Regions from separate parts of the Homo sapiens genome. Here region 1 is linked to region 2. Evidence: promoter capture Hi-C in human tissues and cell types (Jung and others, 2019). All regions are on one chromosome and are shown on one strand. The core of a region is centred on a gene start or on the middle of the fragment in contact, and the rest is flanking DNA. Distances in the headings are between cores, read along the strand shown.

Region 1 (3,886 bases), core at 846-3,345, 1.1 Mb before region 2:
TGAGCCCAAGAGGTTGAGGCTGTAGTGAGCCATGATCCTTCTAGCCTGGGTGACTGGGCAACAGAGCCAAGACCCTGTCTAAAAGAAAAAAAAGGGTCACACCTGTAATCTCAACACTTTGGGAGGCCAAGGCAGGCAGATCACTTGATGTCAGGAGCTTGAGACCAGCCTGTCCAATGTGGTGAAATCCCACATCTACTAAAAATACAAAAATTAGCTGGGCATTGTGGCAGGCACCTGTAATCCCAGCAACTCGGGAGGCTGAGGCGGGAGAATTGCTTGAACCTGGAAGGCAGAGGCTGCAGTCAGCCAAGACTGTACCACTCCATTTCAGCCTAGACGACAGAATGACACTCCATCTCAAAACAAACAAACAAACAAACAAACAAACAAAAACAGAAAAAAGACAAAAACTCAATGAAAAAATGATCAGGATTTATGAACAGGACAGTCACAAGGAAGAAAAACTCTCATGGCTAATACACGTCTGAAAGTATCTCAACTTTTCCATGAATCAGGAAAATACAACTTACAGAAGCAATGGATGAACCTTTCATGCATTCTTCAGTCTTCCCATCTCAAGTATGTGGCGGGGTGTGGGAAAATGAGCACTCTCATACAGGACAGGTGGGAATGATGGCAATCTGATGAGGCCTGGCAACACTGCACTGCAGATATGCATACCCTGTGGTATTAACACATCTACCATCTACAAACATTCACACATACGTACAGAAATCAAGGGATGCCTATTCAGCACTTTCATGTAATATGGAAAAATTGAAACAACCTAAATGTTCTTCAGTGGAGGAAGGAGTAAATAAATGAGGTATAAAATGCTAAAGAGTGGTTAAAAGGAATAAACTTGATCTAGACAGCAACATAGATGGATCTCAGAAACAATCATGAATGCAAAAGCAGGCTGCCGGAGATGCATAGTATCATGCCATTTATGTAGCTTCAAAAAAATACTAGTCAATAGTCCTAAAGATTGTTTTCTCTTTTTTCTTTTTTTTGAGATGAGGGTCTTGCTGTGTCACCCAGGCTGGAGTGCAGTGGTGTGATCACAGCTCACTGCAGCCTTGATCTTGTCTCAAGTGGTCCTCCCACTTCAGCCTCACAAGTAGCTGGGACCACAGGTGCATGCCACCACACCGTGCTAACGGGGGGTCTCATTATGTTGCCCAGGCTAGTCTTGGATTCCTGGGTTCAAGCGATCCTCCCGCCTCAGCCTCCCAAAGTGCTGGGATTACAGGTGTAAGCCACTGTGCTTGGCCTAAGCTTGTTTATGAATATGTATGTATGTAAATGTATTAAAAATGGACTGGAATGGTGTCATAGCAAATTATAGTCTGCCTTCCAGGGGAGAGGAATAGGACTGCTGGTGAGAGGTGACTTTACCATCATCAAGAATAATATTCCTTATTATTACATCCTTTTTCCTTAAGTTTCCTGATACAGGAAAAGAAATTACTTCCTGGCACAGGGAAAAAGTTGGTAATTCTGGTGGCGATTATCTGATATGGGTGTTTATTATATTACTTTGTTCTTCTCAATATTCTGGAAAGTCTTCCTTACCCTAAAAACACAAAGGAAACTTTTGGAAGACACTTGGAAATAGTTTGGCGCACGTTTTCGTGTTGTCTACATTTTCATGTTATCTAGCTTTCAATTTCACGTCTCATCTCCTAATTTTAGCTCTTTAGTCCTCAGGGTAGGTTCAGTGCTTTCCATAGCAACGGTAGAGTGCTGGGTACCAGCTGGGGCCACAAGAAGCACTTAACAACTAAGATCATTATAGTATTTTCTTTAAAATTTTAAGGAAATTCAGTAAGTGCTGCATGACTTTAAATATTACGGGCCAGGTGCGGTAGCTCACTCCTGTAATCCCAGCACATTGGGAGGCCGAGGCAGGAGGATCACGAGGTCAGGGGTTCGAGACCAGCTTGACCAACATGGTGAAACCTATCTCTACTAAAAATAAAAAAAATTAGCCAGGCATAGTGGCGCGTGCCTGTAATCCCAGCTACTCAGGAAGCTGAGGCAGGAAAATTACTTGAACCCGGGAGGTGGAGGTTGCAGTGAGCCGAGATTGCGCCATTGCAGTCCAGCCTGGGCGAAAGAGTGATACTCCTTCTCAAAAAAAAAAAAAAAAAAAAAAAAATTATGGCCACCTGGGTTTATTAGGCTCTTTATCTAAAAGGAAGAGTGCCTGATTTGGAAATATCACACTAAGCTCACGGCTATCTTCCTTTACCTGTGATGTGTCCGTTGTGCTCCTTGAGTTCATGAGCTTTCACCCACTGGCTCCCGTTCTTCTTATAGATGTGCACTTCGTGATTATTGGGACTGAGGGCAATCTCTGGAGACACAAGTCAAACAACAGTTAACACCTGAACTTGCAATTGTCACCAAAAAGGGGACATGTCACAGTTGTTTTAAAAGCAGACTATAGTAAGGAAAAGAAAAACTTTTGAAAAAGTAGTTCCCAAATTCACCTCTGAATAATTCCATTTTTTTTTTAACCTTTACTTGGACCCTGTATTTTATAATGCTTTACAGGAAAACTAAGATTAAAATTCATTTTCCCAGAGACACGTACAACTGTCAATTAATGATTCTAACCAGCGAAAAATAAACAATGTTAGTGTACTTAGCTAAAATAACTTTAGATCAGGGTAAAAATGTTTGACAGTTTCATTCACCTGTGCAATATTATTAGAGCTAAATCTAAATTTCTGTTTGTCTTTTTGAAACACTGAAAATAGGTTATGGACTTCCATTACTGCTATCATGGACCCAGGCTGGAACCACTAGTTTATATTAAAAAAATTGATTCTGCTGATAAACTATACTGAAATTCTCCTTTACAATAAAGCCAATATAAATCACAATACTTTGTTTTCAAGAGTAATTTCCTGAACTAATCCAAAATATAATACACAAAACGGACTTTTTAAAAACTCATACAGGTTGAGCATCCCTAATCTGAAAAGCTGAAATCTGACATGCTCCCAAATCCAAAACTTTTTGAGTATCAACATGACACTCAAAAGGTCATGCTCAAACGCAATGCTCTCTGGAACATTTTGGATTTCAGATTTTCATTTTTTTCTTTTTTGAGATAGTGTTTTGCTCTCGTTGCCCAGGCTGGAGTGCAATGGCGCGATCTTGGCTTACTGCAACCTCCGCCTCCCAGGTTCAAGCGATTCTCCTGCCTTAGCCTCCGAAGTAGCTGGGATTACAGGCATGCGCCACCACGCCCAGCTAATTTTGTATTTTTAGTAGAGACAGGGTTTCTCCATGTTGGTCAGGCTGGTTTCAAACTCCCGACCTCAGGTAATCTGCCTGCCTTGGCCTCCCAAGGTGCTGGGATTACCAGCATGAGCCACCAGGCTCAGCTGGATTTCAAATTTTCAGTGCTCAAATCGTATATATTATGCAAATATCCCCAAATCGTAAGTCCAGAAAATTCTGGTCCCAGGCATTTCAGATAAGGGATACTAGACCTGTATTCATGTATCTTTTTTTACCCCATCTAGTTCATCTGTTTTTTTTTTAATTGAATTTAATTTTTATTTTTAGTAGAGACAGGGTCTCACTATGTTGCCTAGGCTGGTCTTTAACTCCTGGCCTCAAGCAATTCTCCTGCCTTGGCCTCCCAAAGCACTAGGATTACAGGCATGAGCCACGATGCCCAGCCCCTCTTTCTTTTTATTGGTTTCTTAAAATTAAAATTAGGATCTATGGGCCAGGCGTGGTGGCTCACGCCTGTAATCCCAGCACTTTGGGAGGTTGAGGCAGGCAGATCACCTGTGATCAGGAGTTCGAGACCAGCCTGGCCAACACGGGGAAACCCCGTCTCTGCTAAAAATACAAAAATTAG
Region 2 (4,194 bases), core at 1,353-3,852:
TTCACAGGTACAATGCAGAAAGTCAGCCCTCCGCTCACTGAAGACAAATGCATATGTGATTTCTTCCTCTGTCCTATTGTTTATACAAAATGCAGATTCACTGAGCCAGACAGTGAGTAAGGCATATGTGACTATTCCTCTACCCACTCTCACATGTAAATTGTGTATTCAGTGAAAGGCTGATCACAGACTCAAAAGAAAGCAAACTTTTGGCCGGGCATGCTGGCTCACGCCTATAATCCCAGCACTTTGGGAGGCTGAGATGGGTGGATTACCTGAGGTCAGGAGTTCAAGACCAGCCTGGCCAACATGGTGAGATCCTGTCTCTACTAAAAATAAAAAAATTAGCCTGGCGTGGTGGCACACACCTGTAGTCCCAGCTACTCAGGAGGCTGAGAAAGGAGAATCGCTTGAACCTGGGAGGTGGAGGTTGCAGTGAGCTGAGATCTCACCACTGCACTGCAGCCTGGGTGACAGAGTGAGACTCCCTCTCAAAAAAAAAAAAAAAAAAAAAGAACTCGGGATAGGGGGACATGGGTCCCCAAGCCCCTGAATTCAGGAAAACTATATTGAACTTTGTCACCACACATGAAAACTGCAAGGGGCCACAGAAAGCTCCTAATTCAATGCCTCTTTTTCATTTTTTTTCAATGCCTCTTTTAATGTGGAAACTAAAGCTAAAGAGGAGATAAATGGCTACAGAGTGTCACAGGCAGGACAGAACCCAGGGCTCCCTACCTCTAGACTGTTTCTCCAGCAGTCTAGCGACCACTCATCCTCCTTTTTTTTTTTTTTTTTTTTTTTTGAGACAGAGTTTTGCTCTGTTGCCCAGGCTGGAGTGTAGTGGCACAATCTCAGCTCACTGCAAGCTCCGCCTCCTGGGTTCACCTCATTATCCTGCCTCAGCCTCCCGAGTAGCTGGGACTACAGGCGCCCGCCACCACGCCCGGCTAATTTTTTGTGTTTTTAGTAGAGACGGTGTTTCACCATGTTAGCCAGGATGGTCTCATCTCCTGACCTCATGATCCACCCGCCTCGGCCTCCCAAAGGGCTGGGATTACAGGCGTGAACCACTGCGCCCGGCCCACTCATCGTCCTTCTGCTAATAGCACCCTGATCTTCCTCTGAGGAGCCACCCCCTGTGCCTGGCTGAGCCCTTATGCTTGAGGGGGGCTCTGCCCACATCTCCAGACCAAGTCCACAAATGCCAGTCCCTCAGGCCCAAGCTAAAGTCAGGGTCAGACACAGGACTCCACAGAGCCATCCGGGGTGAACAAGAGGCTTCTGGGGGCGTTTTCTTCCACTGGAGCTGGCCTGTGTGGGGCTTCCCCAAACATGAAGGCCCAGGAAAAGCCTGTGTGCAACCCCAGAAATGAGACAGAACTAGAGGGGGAGCAGGAATAGGTCCCTAGGTCCAACCAGGTGACATTGGTTTAGCTCAATGTCGGGTAGTATCTAGCCTTCCATCAGATGCCCTTTTTTTTCTTTTTTGAGAAGGAGTTTTGCTCTTGTCGCCCAGGCTGTAGTGCGGTGGCACAGTGGCACGATCTCAGCTCACTGCAACCTCCACCTCCCCAGTTCAAGCGATTTTCCTGCCTCAGTCTCCCGAGTAGCTGAGATTACAGGCATGCGCCACCACCCCTGGCTAATTTTGCATTTTTACTAGAGACGGGGTTTCACCATCTTGGCCAGGCTGGTCTCAAACCCCTGACCTCAAGTGATCCGCCCGCCTTGGCCTCCCAAAGTGCTGGGATTACAGGTATGAACCGCCGCACCTGGCCGACATCTTTCTTTTTTCTCCTTTCTCCATCCTAACCTTGCCAGTTTTCTGCCAGGCGGGATACAGTGTTTTCAAATCCCAGTTCCATCGCTTACAACGTGAGTCGCTCCATCTCTGAGCCCGTGTTCGCATTTGTAAAATGGGAATGACGCCGCCAGCTCTTTGGGTTGCTGGGAGGATGAAATGAGAAGACCCAAGTAAAGCACTTACGTCAGTGCCCGCCACCCCGGGAGGACTCGCATATTACTATTAATATATTAGGCCAGCTTACACTGGGTTTTGTCACTGACAATAGAGTTTGAGCAATCCAGGGCCTGTTACTGACACCACACCATGCTATAGTCACAAAATCACATATGCTTCCAGGACTCCTCCTCGAAAGAGTAAAGCTTTAAGTGTAGTGTGTGCTCAAGGGCTACGTTTCAGTTCGATGGATACCAGGAAGACACCTGTTCCCTGCGTCCTCTCCACGCCCCAGGCCGGGCGCCCACACCCTGCTCCTCCTGACGCCGCACAGCCACGCACCCAGGTACCCTCTCCGCCACCCCTTCTCCTCGCCTGCAGGCGGTGTCCACACCGCCCTCTCCGCTCCTGCAGACCGGGTCCTGGAGGGCGGCCGGGCGGTCCACGGGCCGGTGTCGCGCCGCCAGAGAGAACGCGGCAACTCGCTTCAGCCGACTCTGGACTCCTGACCTGGCGCGACCCCGGAAGTGGGCGGGCGCGCGACCTCGAAGCCAGCACCGACGCGGCGCACCGCAGCCAATCGCACGTCCCAGGTCGCAGCGTCCTGGCGAGGCTGGCCAATGGGCACGGGGCCTGATGCCGCTTCCGGCCCACCCTCTTGCCCGGTCCCCGGGAGGGCCGGTCCGCTCCTCCCGGACGCCGAGGACCTACCACCGCGACTTCGCCCCGCCCGGCGCGGGCCCAGGTGAGTGCAGAGTGGCGCCCCAGCTGCAGCGGCGGCCAGGGCCGTGGGAAAGAATGGGGCGATGAAGGGCTGGGCACGCCGCCTTCCCCACCACCCCCAGGCTGTTTGCTCGCGGGGAGGGAGGAAGGAGGGACCGCACTTGTCATCTCGCCTGCACACCTGGAAGGTGCCGCCCCCGTCCCCTGCCCTGGAACGCCCACAGGCTAGCGAAGTTGCCTGGTGCAGGTGACGCCCCCATTCCAGCCTTTGGACTGGAGCCATAGGAGAAGCGGATCGCGGGATCCTGGTTGTTTTCGAGAATCACGCAGCAAGGGGCCTGCCTATCCCTCTCCCTGGGTATTGATGGGAGCAAATCTGCTTGTCGTAAGATTAGCTTTGGCAGATGGTCAGGGCCCAGAGCTCCGACATATGCTACTGGTGGCAGTGCAGGGGCCCCACCTGTCACCCAAGTGCACAGCACTGGGCTGAACGCCAGGCTGACTCAGGACACCTCCTGCCCGGTGGGGCTGGGCGGACCCTATTCTTCAGGAAAGAATCAACTACCATGCAAGTTCTGCTGCTTTTTCCCACCTTTTAGGACCCTGATGTCGCTTTTGAACAGCCCCTGCACCTGGCAGCCAGCGAGCTACTGTAGTAGGCATTGCCGACTGTTTGCATACCGGATGGGAGTGACAGTGTAATAGAAAAACAAGCAAGAAACCTTTTAGGTAGGACTCCTAAGGCTCAGAGGAAGTAAGTGCTTGCGGAGCGTTCTTTGTACTGTGTCTTTTCCTCTACCACATCTCTGTCCCCGCCTCTCTTGGGTGCTTTTTTTGGTCTCTGAAAGGATCTGTGAATAAACTGAGACAGAAAGGCAGATGGCTTTGAGGGTGGCGAGCAGACCTTCTTCGTGGAAAGACTGAAGGTTCAACTCAAATTCATCTTGTAGAAATTCTTGGTGAATTCGAGGCTGCTGATTTGGAAGATTTTCCTCCATCCCTCTAACCCTACAAAACAAACAAGTCCCAGGATCCCTGAATCATGGGGCTTCATGTTCCAACCCCCCTTTCAAGAGTCCTCTGACCCAGTGACCCTGTGTAAGTTGCCTGATCAGCTCACAGCCAGAAAGTGGCCCATGAGGAGCTAGGGGGAGCCTCTTGGCAGAGGCAGAAAGAAAGTGTGGCTGACCAAGGATGGTTACCGGATGTCAACTGTAGCTAGGAAGTGACGACAGGTGCCTGGGTCTCTACTCTGAAGGGAGTTTGTAAATACAGCAACCCCCCACCCCTCCCTTTCACTGTAGCAGAGTCTTCTCCCATTAACTGCCCAGAAGATTCAATGATGTCTATGAGGAAATTAGTGCTTAGTCATTTATTTGAAGGAAAGTCAAAATCTCCTTTCATTGAGCTCAACCTGCAGACTGAGTCTAGCTAAACTGCTTGCTTATCCAGTGAATTCTGAGCTATCTTTGTTTTGTTGTTGTTGTTGTTGTTGTTTGTTTTCCTTT

The links. Contacts are between HindIII fragments. The study calls those that stand out against the background at their distance.
Region 1: a fragment that was not itself captured here is called in contact with the fragment with the promoter of TECPR1 in region 2 in 1 of the 25 tissues and cell types used here (IMR-90 fibroblasts).

Annotation. Positions count from the first base shown.
Region 1 is chr7:99,336,657-99,340,542 of GRCh38, reverse strand. It overlaps ARPC1A (actin related protein 2/3 complex subunit 1A), which reads right to left. Exons shown (of 10, transcript NM_006409.4): 3 at 2,258-2,362. Among named protein-coding and RNA genes, the nearest start is that of ARPC1A, 13 kb to the right of the region's middle. The HindIII fragment of the contact is 3,077 bases long and covers 557-3,633 here.
Region 2 is chr7:98,250,640-98,254,833 of GRCh38, reverse strand. It overlaps TECPR1 (tectonin beta-propeller repeat containing 1), which reads left to right and starts at 2,602. Exons shown (of 26, transcript NM_015395.3): 1 at 2,602-2,708; 2 at 3,286-3,440. It overlaps LOC124901706 (a long non-coding RNA gene), which reads right to left and starts at 2,475. Exons shown (of 2, transcript XR_007060448.1): 1 at 2,306-2,475; 2 at 1-1,950. RefSeq lists silencers at 2,316-2,415, 2,506-2,895 and an enhancer at 2,212-2,955. The HindIII fragment of the contact is 13,154 bases long and covers 348-4,194 here.